Linked DNA regions of Homo sapiens: region 2 is linked to region 1. The links are contacts of gene promoters, found by promoter capture Hi-C in human tissues and cell types (Jung and others, 2019). All regions are on one chromosome and are shown on one strand. Each heading gives the region's core, a stretch centred on a gene start or on the middle of the fragment in contact. The rest is flanking DNA. Distances are from core to core; before and after follow the strand shown. Region 1 holds the start of CDC5L (cell division cycle 5 like). Region 2 overlaps RCAN2 (regulator of calcineurin 2).

Region 1 (2,700 bases), core at 17-2,516:
AATGAAAACATTTTGTTTGAGTTTAACTGGCCACAGGTCCAATGGTTTCTTATACACCACACAGTGGGTAAACAGCTCAAGGGCGGGCTGCCCGCCAGCATAAACCTTTGAGTGGCAAACACTACCAGGGTGGCCATGGAAAATGCCCTCTTGCTGACCATAATTGCACAGAATGTGTGTAAATAAAAGCTAAAAGGAAAAAGAAAATTCTGTAGCTCTTCCAGAAGAGGCAAACGGAGAAATGAAGAAATATAAAGAGATAGGCACTATATAAATACTAAGTACTATAAATAGGGCATTTCCCAACCCACTAAATATTTTGATATTTTCCAGGGATGGAGCCAGAGATGTTCTGGAAGGATGAAGGAGACTGCATGAGTAATTGGGGTGGGGTAGCAGAGAGTTTGCCAATCCCTACCTCACTGGGTTTTAGTTATGTTTCAGTTAATCTGCCTCCTCATTTACGAGGCGGGTATTGTTAGCTCCACTTTTCAGATGAGGATACTGAGATTCAGTAAGGTTATTACCCAAACTTATGAGAAAGCCAAGATTTCACAATATTTCAACCCAACTCGACTTTGTCTAATACCAGTGCGTACCAATGGCATTATTAATCCAGACTGGGCGATGAATTAAAAACTCTGACGTGACGTTTCTGCAGGTTTCTGGAAGAAGCCTGGATCACCTGGGGACGGGGTGAAGTTGGCGTTGCCCTCCTTGCAGTAATAGCTGCTATTGTTTTGCAGCAGTTATTATGGATCAGATACTGTGCTGGGTCTATGATCTCATTTAGCCCTTACGACAATCCTGTGAGGTTGGCATTACTATGATCTCTATTTTACAGGTTAGGAAACTGAGCCTTAAATAAACTACTGGATTTTCCTGAGTATTCTGTGAATAAATTCCTATTACTGAAATACTTGAAAGGGCTAGATTAATAAATTAACAAAGCCTTCTTCGGAGCAACTGTGCTGAAATTCCGTACGCGTGACGTTCCCACCCTCTGCCACTCGGTGACGTCACGATCAATCCCACCACTAAGTTCCCAGCCAAGCGCTACCGCCGCTATCTCGCGAGAGCCGTAGTTTCTTCCATTCTGTTTTGGACATGCGCGGGGCGTAAGGCGCTTTGGCCAGAGTGGTTTGATGGTTTTGTGTTAGTCTTCCTGCAGCTGAGCTTCCACAAGACACTTTTTCCCTTTCAGCCACCCAATATCTCGCGAGACTTGCTATTCTGCGCCCCCTCCCACCTTGCGCTTGCGCAGATCTTCAAAGCAGAAGGTCGCGCTTGGAGGAAGTGGCGGCTTTGAGTCCGGTGGCCCAATCGCTGTTACTACTTCTCTGAAGCTCCTCTCGGCTGCTTGCCGAGACACCCTGCCGCCAAGATGCCTCGAATTATGATCAAGGGGGGCGTATGGAGGAATACCGAGGTAAGTCTCCTTTTCCCGCCGTCCGCTGCCCGCCGCTCCCTCTAGCAGCTTGTGCGCACGCGCGCGGAGGTCGGGGGGGCGACGAGGAGACCCTGTGGGGTCTGCGTGGAGGGCAGCCCGGGGGCTGACCCTTGGGGCCCTTTCCGTGTGTCTGGCCCCGTGTTGTGCGAGCGCCAGTAGGACAGGGACCGTGATGTCACCACCTGGCTACTCGGCTCCAAGCTCACTTGTTAGGCCCTGAGTGAACATTTGTTGACTTGAATACGCCCCCTCCCACCCCGCCCCCCCGCCCCCCCCGGCCCCGGGAAGAACTCAGAGTTCCAACTCAGCCAGAGTTGGTCCCCCGGGGCACCATCCACTCTTAGTCCAGGCACCACGACTCTGTCTCATACTCAGAAATAAAGAAGTTGCCGTGGCCACAACTTTGTGTCTCCATTGACTTCCTTGCAGAGGGGAAGCAGTTTGAGTGCCAGGTTCAGAGAGCCCGTTTATGCCCGCATCTCTCTGGTTATCTGTTATCAGGGCATAACCTGTCTGCCATCTCGACAGATCCCAAGGTCTGTCTCTTTCTGTCACTGCCTTTGCCTAGATAGAAGCCAGAAAGGAAAAACTGGCCTAGGATAGTCTCTGTTTCCAGAAACGTAGTGGATAGTGCCATTGGTGAGCCAAAGGGCAGTAGAGTGGGAGTGAAATAGAAATTAGATTTTAGTGCGTTTTGTGTTCAGAGTGTACCGAATTTATCAGTTTCTGGAGCACATCATGTCTTTTCATGCTCTGTGTCTTTTTTTCGTTACATTTTATGGCTTCTTTTTTTTTTTTTTTTTACATCTTTTGCCTTCCTAGCGCTTGACATCTTTCTGATCATCCTTCAAACCTAGTTCGGAAACACTTCTTGGAATCTCTGTAAGAATTAATTGCACCCCCGATATTCTCATGATACCTTTTTCTTCCGTTTGTTAAAACTTGCTTTGTCTTTTTGTAAGCATCACATCCTCTGTGTGGTACTCGGTAAGTTTCTTAACTTCTGAAAGCCTCAGTTTTCTACTTTTTCTAAATTGGGATAATAATACTTAACCTCTCTTGAGGATTACACGAGTTAATACGTTTGGAATATTTAGATCAGAGTAGGGCACATAGTAGCCTCTGAGTAAGAGCTAGTTGCTCTTTCACCTCACCAGACAGCATGGCGAGAGGACCAGGTCTTGGTATCCCTAGGACCTAGGACAGTAACCAACATGAAGTAGGTTGCTCGACAGGTATTTGCAGAATGA
Region 2 (2,700 bases), core at 47-2,546, 1.9 Mb after region 1:
CAGGCTGGAGTGCAGTGGCATGATCTCGGCTCACTGCAAGCTCCACCTCCCCGGTTAAGGCCATTCTCCTGCCTCATCCTCCCAAGTAGGTGGGAGTACAGGCGCCTGTCACCATGCCCGGCTAATTTTTTTTTGTATTTTTTAGTAGAGACGGGGTTTCACCGTGTTAGCCAGGATGGTCTCGATCTCCTGACCTTCTGATCTGCCCGCCTCGGCCTCCCAAAGTGTTGGGATTACAGGCGTAAGGCACCGCGCCCGGCCTATACCCCAATAATTGATTAATGCTTTATTAATTAATCCTTAGAGAGATTTCGATAGTGGAAAGAACAGTTCAAGTCCCACTTCTGCCAATTAATAGCTGTGTAATCTTGTGTAAAAAGGTAACTTCTCTGAATATCAGGAATCTGTTTATAATGGGGCAACTACATAGATGCCTTGGGCTATAATGGGGATTATATGAAGTACCTGTTATATGCCTTGTAGTTAGAAGAATTTTGTGATTGGAAACAGTAGTTGGAAGTTTTAAAATTGCCCACCTTGATAACATATAATATTGATCCATGGAGATGAATATCTCTGGAGCTTACATTTGTCACCATGTGGTGACATGTGGGATGGTTTAATGCTCAACTTAGTAAACAGTCCCCTGAGGTTAAATGTTTGGGGTACAGCATGAACACTGCTCACATATTTCTATAGAACTACCAGAGGTAGGGGAAGAAAATCTTACAATTAAATAGCAAAGTATCCTATTGTTGGAGCAAATAAAACATTATTGAAGATGTTGTTTTAGGAAATGAAAGTTAGTACATAGTCCAATCTAACAGAAGCATAGATAGGTTAAAGTCATCTTTCTGGAAGCTAAAGGATCAAGACCTTTTTGAAACATTAAAAAAAAGTATAGTTCAGAGCTGATATATTAGATTCTGGAAAGAATAACTGTTGTAGTACTAGACTGTAAGGATGTGGACACTGCTATGGTATATAACAATAAAAAGAGAAGATAATGAATTTCTTAGTCCCCTTCACTCCCAGGGGAGTTTCCTTTAGCAATTGTTCAAGTTTCTATTCAACTCACTTGCCAAGAATCTTCTTTGGGCCCTTAATCCCTTGATGTAGTTAAAAGCACGCAATTACCATTAACTAGTTAGATGTGCCATTGTAGAATAGGTAGAGGATCCAGAAAAAACCTTCTATGGTAACAGAAGGTTAAAAAAAAAGAGAAATATATAGTAAATATGCATGTTATACATACATTTGCACATGTGTATAATATCCGTATATACATATATGTACACACATATGTTTTACCCAGGTATACTTACCCAAAAGGTGAACATGAAATTACATATATCGAACCTTTTCTAGGGAAGGTCTAACTTGGTAGACATTTTATTCTCAAAAACTTTGACAATTAACTCTCCATTCTAGCTAGAGTGGAATGGGTATATATAACTTTGTACCTGCTCAAAATTTCCAGTTGAAATTACCTCTCCATGTGTTTTTAAAATTCTATTTTTGAAATAGTTTAGCTTTAGCATTGGGAAAGGATACAGAACCTTTACATAAATACATTTGTCCCTTTACATAAAGAAATTCTAGGCCAGGTATGAGTTGGATAGTTTATGATCTCCTTGCAAAGCTGGGCTAGTCACTGCAAAGTTGCAATGCCTATTAAGCCCATTAAGCTTACCACCTAAACACATAAAGTGATAATAAGTGTTTCAGGTATCATTTTCTTTCTTATGTGTCAATTCTAAGCTTTATCAGAAAGTACTAAAACAAACCCATATAAATTACTGATAGTTGGACTCAAACAGAATCACTAAGACTGCAAATGGCACTCTCTGAATTTTACATTAAAATCTGTTTCTTTAGGAAAACAATTTTTCATTAAAATTGCTGTTTTGTTTTAATATATCTGACATTTAGGTTAGAGGTAGCAACTGCCAATGTCTGTTACTTCTCAACAGTTAAAAGATTCTTTAAACAGATAAACAAGTTTTTAGTTGATTTCCCCACTTAACAATGTTATTAGTTGAACGGTCTACCTTGTCTTTACCAAATGTGATAGGTGGCTGAGAAATCTGCCTCTGAACCTTCTCAGGGAGTATCACTTTCATAAAATCATTTCTTCCCTCTCTCTGAAAGATGTTTGCTACTTTCTTCAGAGGCAAGAAAATGTTTAGTATTGTACATTTAAGAATGTTAAGTTCTTAAAGAATTGTTTTAGAGATCATTAATTTTAACTTTCAGTTTTGCATTAATTCATTTATTTCCAAAATGGCCTCAATTCTAGTCCATGTTATTACCGGAGAAATAGCAACATTTGTTTTGCTGGAGGGTTAGAATCTGTTATACACATGCCATCTCTCTTGCCACCTCACACACACACTGCCTTTTGTTCTTCATAAACCAAAGATGGTCTAGAGATGTATGACAAAATATTATTTTTAATATTACTATTATGGTCATTGAATAGGGAATGAGCATTTCAGTTGACTTCACGTTTTGGTTACTGAACGTTAATTACCATGAATACCTCTAGAGGGTTTACCATTTCTGAGGATTAAATCATATACAACTCAAACACTTCTAAGTTACTGAGTGAACACAATGGTTTTTGAAAATTCTTAAAGAGCTTTAGAGCTCTGCAGAGCCATAGGTCATGATTGGTTGTGCCCAGATCCTTACCCTAGT

Evidence for each region. The method cuts DNA at HindIII sites, captures the fragments that hold promoters and counts their contacts. A contact is called where the count stands out against the background at its distance.
Region 2: a fragment that was not itself captured here is called in contact with the fragment with the promoter of CDC5L in region 1 in 1 of the 25 tissues and cell types used here (hippocampus).

What each region holds. Positions count from the first base shown.
Region 1 is chr6:44,386,440-44,389,139 of GRCh38, forward strand. CDC5L (cell division cycle 5 like) reads left to right here and starts at 1,267. Exons shown (of 16, transcript NM_001253.4): 1 at 1,267-1,429. The coding sequence starts at 1,385. It overlaps LOC124901323 (a long non-coding RNA gene), which reads right to left and starts at 1,480. Exons shown (of 4, transcript XR_007059595.1): 1 at 600-1,480. RefSeq lists an enhancer at 1,149-1,348. The HindIII fragment of the contact is 26,922 bases long and covers 1-2,700 here.
Region 2 is chr6:46,317,504-46,320,203 of GRCh38, forward strand. The region is part of intron 2 of RCAN2 (regulator of calcineurin 2); the gene reads right to left. The region is part of intron 2 of LOC101926915 (a long non-coding RNA gene); the gene reads left to right. Among named protein-coding and RNA genes, the nearest start is that of ENPP5, 150 kb to the left of the region's middle. The HindIII fragment of the contact is 3,116 bases long and covers 1-2,700 here.